Regions from separate parts of the Homo sapiens genome. Here region 1 is linked to region 2. Evidence: promoter capture Hi-C in human tissues and cell types (Jung and others, 2019). All regions are on one chromosome and are shown on one strand. The core of a region is centred on a gene start or on the middle of the fragment in contact, and the rest is flanking DNA. Distances in the headings are between cores, read along the strand shown. Region 1 overlaps XRCC6 (X-ray repair cross complementing 6). Region 2 holds the start of CSDC2 (cold shock domain containing C2).

The links. The method cuts DNA at HindIII sites, captures the fragments that hold promoters and counts their contacts. A contact is called where the count stands out against the background at its distance.
Region 1: a contact is called between a fragment that was not itself captured here and the fragment with the promoter of CSDC2 in region 2, in 4 of the 25 tissues and cell types used here (IMR-90 fibroblasts, dorsolateral prefrontal cortex, mesenchymal stem cells and 1 more).

The regions. Positions count from the first base shown.
Region 1 is chr22:41,658,585-41,661,965 of GRCh38, forward strand. It overlaps XRCC6 (X-ray repair cross complementing 6), which reads left to right. Exons shown (of 13, transcript NM_001469.5): 12 at 2,747-2,860. Among named protein-coding and RNA genes, the nearest start is that of SNU13, 29 kb to the right of the region's middle. The HindIII fragment of the contact is 4,770 bases long and covers 1-3,381 here.
Region 2 is chr22:41,559,476-41,562,545 of GRCh38, forward strand. It overlaps CSDC2 (cold shock domain containing C2), which reads left to right and starts at 1,535. Exons shown (of 4, transcript NM_014460.4): 1 at 1,535-1,708. LOC105373044 (a long non-coding RNA gene) reads right to left here and starts at 1,408. Exons shown (of 2, transcript NR_134631.1): 1 at 1,245-1,408. The HindIII fragment of the contact is 6,219 bases long and covers 1-2,702 here.

The DNA of each region.
Region 1 (3,381 bases), core at 303-2,802, 99 kb after region 2:
AGGCCGCCCTGTGACTACATGCTGGTGAAATTTAAAAAATAATATAAGAGGCTGGGCACGGTGGCTCATGCCTGTAATCCCAGCACTTTGGGAGGCCGAGGCGGGTGGATCACGAGGTCAAGAGATTGAGACCATCCTGGCCAACATGTCTCTACTCTGTCTCTACTAAACTCTGTCTCTACTAAAAATACAAAAAATTAGCTGGGTGTGGTGGCGTGTGCCTGTAGTCCCAGCTACTCGGGAGGCTGAGGCAGGAAGATCGGTTGAACTCAGGAGGCAGAGGCTGCAATGAGCCGAGATTGCACCACTGCACTCCAGCCTGGTGACAGAGCGAGACGCTGTCTCAAAAAACAAAACAAAAACAAAAAATCAATAAATAATTTAAGAGGAAATAAGTGGTGGATTTGGGTTTAGAATCCAGCGACTCGCAGCCGGGCGTAGTGGCTTACGTCTGCCTCCTAGGTTCAAGCTATTCTCGTGTCTCAGACTCCCGAGCAGTTGGTCCCCGCCCGGCTAATTTTTGTATTTTTAGTAGAGACGGGATTTCGCCATGATGGCCCGGCTGGTCTCAGAATGATCTATTTTAGACAAAATAGCCCCAGTGTTAAAAGCAGAAGAGTTATTGGACCATTGTTACTGTGGTGCCTGCTTAGCTGTGTCTGGCGAAAGAGAAACGTTTTGAGCTAAACAGCCCATCTCCTCCTTTCAGGCCTTAGGCAAATTCAGAAGTCGGTGGCCTAGTGCCTAGCAAGGTAGTTTAGGACACAGGTGCCTGCCACCAAGCCCGGTTAATTTTTTTGTATTTTTAGTAGAGACGGGGTTTCACTGGGTTAGGATGGTCTCGATCTCCTGACCTTGTGATCCGCCCGCCTTGGCCTCCCAAAGTGCTGGGATTACAAGCAGGAGGCGCTGCGCACGGCCTATTTTGTGTTTTTATTAGTGATTGGGTTTCACCATGTTGGCCAGGCTGGTGTCAAATTCCTGACCTCAAGTGATCCACCTGTCTCGGCCTCCCAAAGTTCTGGGATTATAGGCATAAGCCACCATGCTCACTACTTTTATTTTTATTTTTAGTACTGAGCATAGGCTGGACCTCAGTACATTCATTCATTCATTTGAGACAGGTTCTCACTCTTGTCACCCAGACTGAAGTGCAGTGGTGGGATCTCGGCTCACTGAAACCTTTGGCTCCCAGGCTCAAGCAGTTCTCCTGCCTCAGCCTTCCGAGTAGCTGGGATTACAGGCACCCGCCACCATGCCTGGCTGATTTTTGTATTTTTTGGTAGAGATGGGGGTTCACCATATTGGCCAGGCTCATCTTGAACTCCTGACCTTAGGTGATCCACCCGCCTCGGCCTCCCAAAGTGCTGGGATTACAGGCAAGAGCCACTGCACCCAGCTTCTCTGTACTTTTAAAACTCTACAGATGATTCCCAGATTGGGAGCCAGTGCTCTTGCAGAGGTTCCCATGATGTGGACCAGGGGACTTCTGATGCAGCAGGAGCACAGTTTGGCTCCAGCATTGTGCCATCTAGGTACACCAGCAAGAGCTCCCCTCCATGCTTGGCAAATACGGGCATGTGAGCTGCCCATCTCATCACCCTTGCCCTTGATGTGACACAGCTCATGTCAGAAGCTTGATTTAACAATATAGTTGTAAGCTAACAAAAAAGGAAACAAAAGTATGATCTTTCCTCCAAAGTTGCCTTTTCCTGTCATACTTGCTCCCCCTGTTTCAGCCAGTCATCTCCCCATCCCACTCCTATTCTTCTTACATTCTGGTTTCCAGCTCTGTGATTTCAGTTAAATAATAAATCCTATTCTATCAGTAAGTCCTGCCAGTTCTGTCACTTCTCATGTTTATGGGTCCTCCCACCCACACCCCACTTCACCTGTCTTATCTTACCCTCTTTCAGTTCACCCTCCATGCAGCTATCAGGGGATTCTTTGGATAAGGCCTAATTCCTTGGCAGGCATCCCAGCTTCCATGACCTCATCATACCCATCTTTCTCACCTCTCTGCTGGCCCTGTCCTCCTTAACACCCTACCTTCCAGCTATATGTCACCTGCTATTTCTCTCCCAGTGCCTTCTGCTTCTTATCTTTCACCACCCCTCCTGTGTTCCAGTGTGCCTGTACAGTCGCTTCTTGCATGGTGTTGCCCAACTCCACTGCATCGTTTTTATCCACCTCCTCTCTCTCACTGGGCTGTAAGCTCACCGCAGGCATGAGCACTTGTTTGAATTCCCAGAATCTAGCTTAGTATCTCCACTGTACCACTGCCCTTTGGGAAAGTCATGTAATCTCTCTCCTTTTCTCCTCTGTAAAACTGGGGACAAATCAAGAGGCTGAGGCAGGAGAATCGCTTGAACCAGGGAGTCGGAGGTTGCAGTGAGCCAAGATCGCGCCACTGCACTCCAGCCTGGCAACAGAGCAAGACTCCATCTCAAAAAAAAATCTAAAAAAAAAAAAACTGGGGACAAATTTACCTATCCTATAGGTTGTTAGAAGGAGTAAATAGAGTAAGTTTAAAGCATTTACAACAGTGCCTGGCGGTAGTATGTGTAATTACAGTAAATGCAGGTGTTGGAAGGTACTTGGTAAATGCTGGAAAGACATTTCCCTAGACCCCTCCCACCTTAGCAGTTAGGTGCTCTCTCTTCTGGTTCTCAGAGAGTTCTGGAAGTGGACAGCAAGCTGGGGCTCGTGACTCACCAGGCCACTCTTCTGTGTTTTGATTTTCTAGTGCCCAAGGTTGAAGCAATGAATAAAAGACTGGGCTCCTTGGTGGATGAGTTTAAGGAGCTTGTTTACCCACCAGATTACAATCCTGAAGGGAAAGTTACCAAGAGAAAACACGGTGAGAAGCTGAATGTGGACATGTGGGCTATTTTTAAAAATTGCTTTTATGATAGTCTTATCACAGTGGGCAATATCCTTTCAGAAATATCTATTCACAGTCTAGTTAAAATGGCTTTTATCCAAAAAACAGACAATAACAAATGCTGGCAAAGATGTGGAGAAAAGGGAACCCTCATACACTGTTGGTGGGAATGTAAATTAGTACAGCCACTATTATGGAGAATAGTTGGGAGTTTCCTCAAAAAGTGAAAACTAGAGCTACCATATGATCCAGCATACCATATGATCCAGTCAGTATATACCCAAAAGAAAGGAGATCAATATATCAAAGAGATATGTGCACTCCCATGTTTATTGCAGCACCATTCACAATAGCCAAGATCTGGAAGCAACTTGTGTCCATCAACAGATGCCTGGTAAAGAAAATGTGGTACACGTACACAATGGAGTACTATTCGGCCATAAAAAAGAATGAGATCCTGTCATTTGCAATAATATGTTAAGTGAAGTAAGCCAGGC
Region 2 (3,070 bases), core at 285-2,784:
CAACATAGTGAAACCCTGTCTCTACTAAAAATACAAAAAAATTAGCTGGGTGTGGTGGTGTGTGTCTGTAGTCCCAGCTACTCAGGAGGCTGAGGCAGGAGAATCGCTTGAACCCGGGAAGCGGAGGTTGCAGCGAGCTGAGATCAAGCCACTGCCCTCCAGCCTGGGCGACACAGCAATACTCTCTAAAAAAAATAATAATAATTCAGAACATCCCCAGGTAACCACAGGCAGCATTTCTCAACAGTCTCTCCTGCAGAACCAGAAACCCAGACTGTCTGAGCCTGATTGTCCTGAGAGGTTCTGGAAGGGCAGGGGCGTGTGGTGACACTGGGTGCTCCTGGGTTCCAGTACCTCTCTAGCCAGTTGGAAGAATATAGGCAAGTCAAGTCCTTCCTCCTCCCTGAGCCTCTAATTCCTCACCGGTAAAGTAGGGATGATAAAAATAAATTATTAAATTGTTGTGAGGTTTCAATGAGGGCAAAGCTTGCTGCCTGAAACAGAGCAAGCTCTTGTGGCGTCTTAGCTATTTGTATTAGTTACTTGTATTTTTCTCTGCGGTTTCCCTTTTAACTCCCACCTCCTTTTTATTTTAAAAAGACTCCTTTTGAAAATGCCAGCCTGCCTCAGTAGTACCAGGAGACACCAGGGAAAGGCTTCCTTCTTTCCAAGCTGAGGCTGAGAAGGAATGGGAAGAACGAAGAGAAGCACCTTTGTGGAGGCCTCCTCCAGCTGGCCCTGGGTTTAGGAACATCACACACTCAACCTCCAAAGGCCCTCAGGGGCTGGCCCAAGGTCACACAGCTTGACAGTGCGGAGCACTTCGAAGCCAGGGCGTGTGGTGTAGAACAGGCTGGGTGCCTGAATTCAATCAGCCCTCTCTACTTCTCTACTCAGAGCCTCCCAGGCTGTGGGGTGTTCACCTGTGCACCTTCAAGCCGATCACTTCCTTGGGGTCCTCGTCAATTCAATTCCATGGAAATATTACAAGGGGTAGACAGAGATGAGCCGTGTCAGTGTCTGTACTAGCAGAGGGCAGGACCACTGAGCGTCCGGAGGGGAGACGAGTGTCTGGGTGTCCCTGGGAACCTGGCTTGTCTCGACCCCTCTGGGGGGCTCCTCTTGGCTCTGACCTCCATTCTCCCAGACTCACCCCCACTCATGCCCACCCACCCCGAGGGGCCCCCCAGTGTGCACTCACACACTCACACTCAAACTCACCACCCCACTTGCTCTCTAATTACCAGGAACGTGGCGCTGTCTCAGGTTCTTCCTCCCCTGCATTCCTCAGCAGCTGCCCTCACTGGGCAGGGCAAATTATACCGTGGCCCGACCATAAAAGCCACTTTCCAAAAAAAGAAGCTTTAAGGCCCCCGAGAGACGCAGCTGAGCCTCTCACCTGGCAGTGCCTGACTCAGGAGGTGATGTCTGGGCCATGAGCCACAGAGCCTGGTGTCCCTTTAAGCAGGGAGTACAAATTCTCATCCCTCCCTCCTGCTCTCCCTGACGTCAGCTGGAAGGCGTGTGAGTGAGTGAGGGGCTGAGGTACCGCCCGCGCGAGCACACACAGACACACACACACACACACACACACACACACACACACATCTTCCAGACCCATCCCCTGCCTGCCAGCTCCACGAGCCAGAGAGAGACAGAGCGCGGACGCCGCAGGAGGCAGTGCCTGGACCCCAGCTGCCCAGGAGAGGTGAGGGGCTAGATGGGGCCTGAGGACACTGTGCCAGAAACTGTGGCTTTGGCCAGGCCGAAGGAGAGAGGTACAACGTGAAGGTGGGGGCTGGATCAGCCCAGTTCAGCTTACAGATAGGGTGTTGGGGGTATAGAGGATACCACCTGTCTCTCCCTCCCTCATTCTCTCCCCGTGACCCCCAAATGAGGTGAGGCCGTGTGGCTCCCGTGGGAGCATGTCTGTGTCTGTGTCTGTGTCTGTGTCTGGGACCTGCGTCTGGCTCAGGAGGCAGAGAGCAGCAGATACCTGCCAAGCCGCAGCCTCCTGTCTGGGAAGCAGCGGGAGAGAGGACCGCCTTGACCAGAGAAACCCCAGTGCCGCTTCCAGTTGCTGAAAGCAGAGTGCAGCAGGGACCCTTGCTGGTCCTTCCCCTGGAATGTTGGGCTGGGAAGGGACCGGCTGGGAAAGGCAGACAGTTGGACCTGGAGCAGCTGTCTTATCCTGACTCTATTTTTTCCCCAGTGTGATGGGGATAATTGTGTTAGTTGGCTTAGAGAGGTGGCTCCGTGTGGTTATTCTCTTCCCCCAGGTACCACCCCACCCCGAGCCCTTGCTTCTTGCCTGCCTGCTGGTCTGCTCTGACCTCCACCCTTGCCAGGGCACAGCCCCCGGAGGGCAGGGGTGATAAGTCAGGGCCTGCCAGGCCTCTATCTTGGGATACAGGGACTTAGGGTGGCCTTGGCTGGTGCCAAGCCCATGAATGGCCTGACCCTGGCACAAGGAGTCCAGGCGGAGATAAGGGGCGACGCTGGCACCCACAAGGAGACAGCAGGTTCCTGCCAAGCTGCCAGCCTGCAGGCTCTTCCCAGGGAGAGGGGAGGGGGACACAGAGCGAGAACAATAATAAATACAGAGTGTGAACTGCTGCATCCACTGGGGCTGGGGTAGGAGAGGAGGAAGTATGCCCAGTGGGGGGTGGGCAACCTCTCTGAGAGCCTGGCATCATGCTGCCTGGCTGTGATCCGGCAGGGGCCTCTCCCTGGGAAAGGGGGTCTCCAGCTTTCTGGGGGATGGGGAACTGGTTTCCCAAACCTGACTCCATCCCAGAGTCCTCTGGACCCTCCAAATTCTGAATGTTTCCTCCTCCCAGCTTTGCCCTGCCGCCCCCCATTTCCTTGAAGTCTTCTCCAAAAATGTCTGTTTTCTGTGTCTGCCCATCTTGACCCATCCTCACCCCCTTCAAAAAAAAAAAAAAAGACAGGTATAGACAGGAACTGCCTGCCCGTGTCCTGGGAAAGGCCAGAGGACAGTTTTGGCCACAGATGGCTCTCCCAGGCTTGGAGAGACATGGCTAGGCAATGTTCACGGATGCGCAGGGGG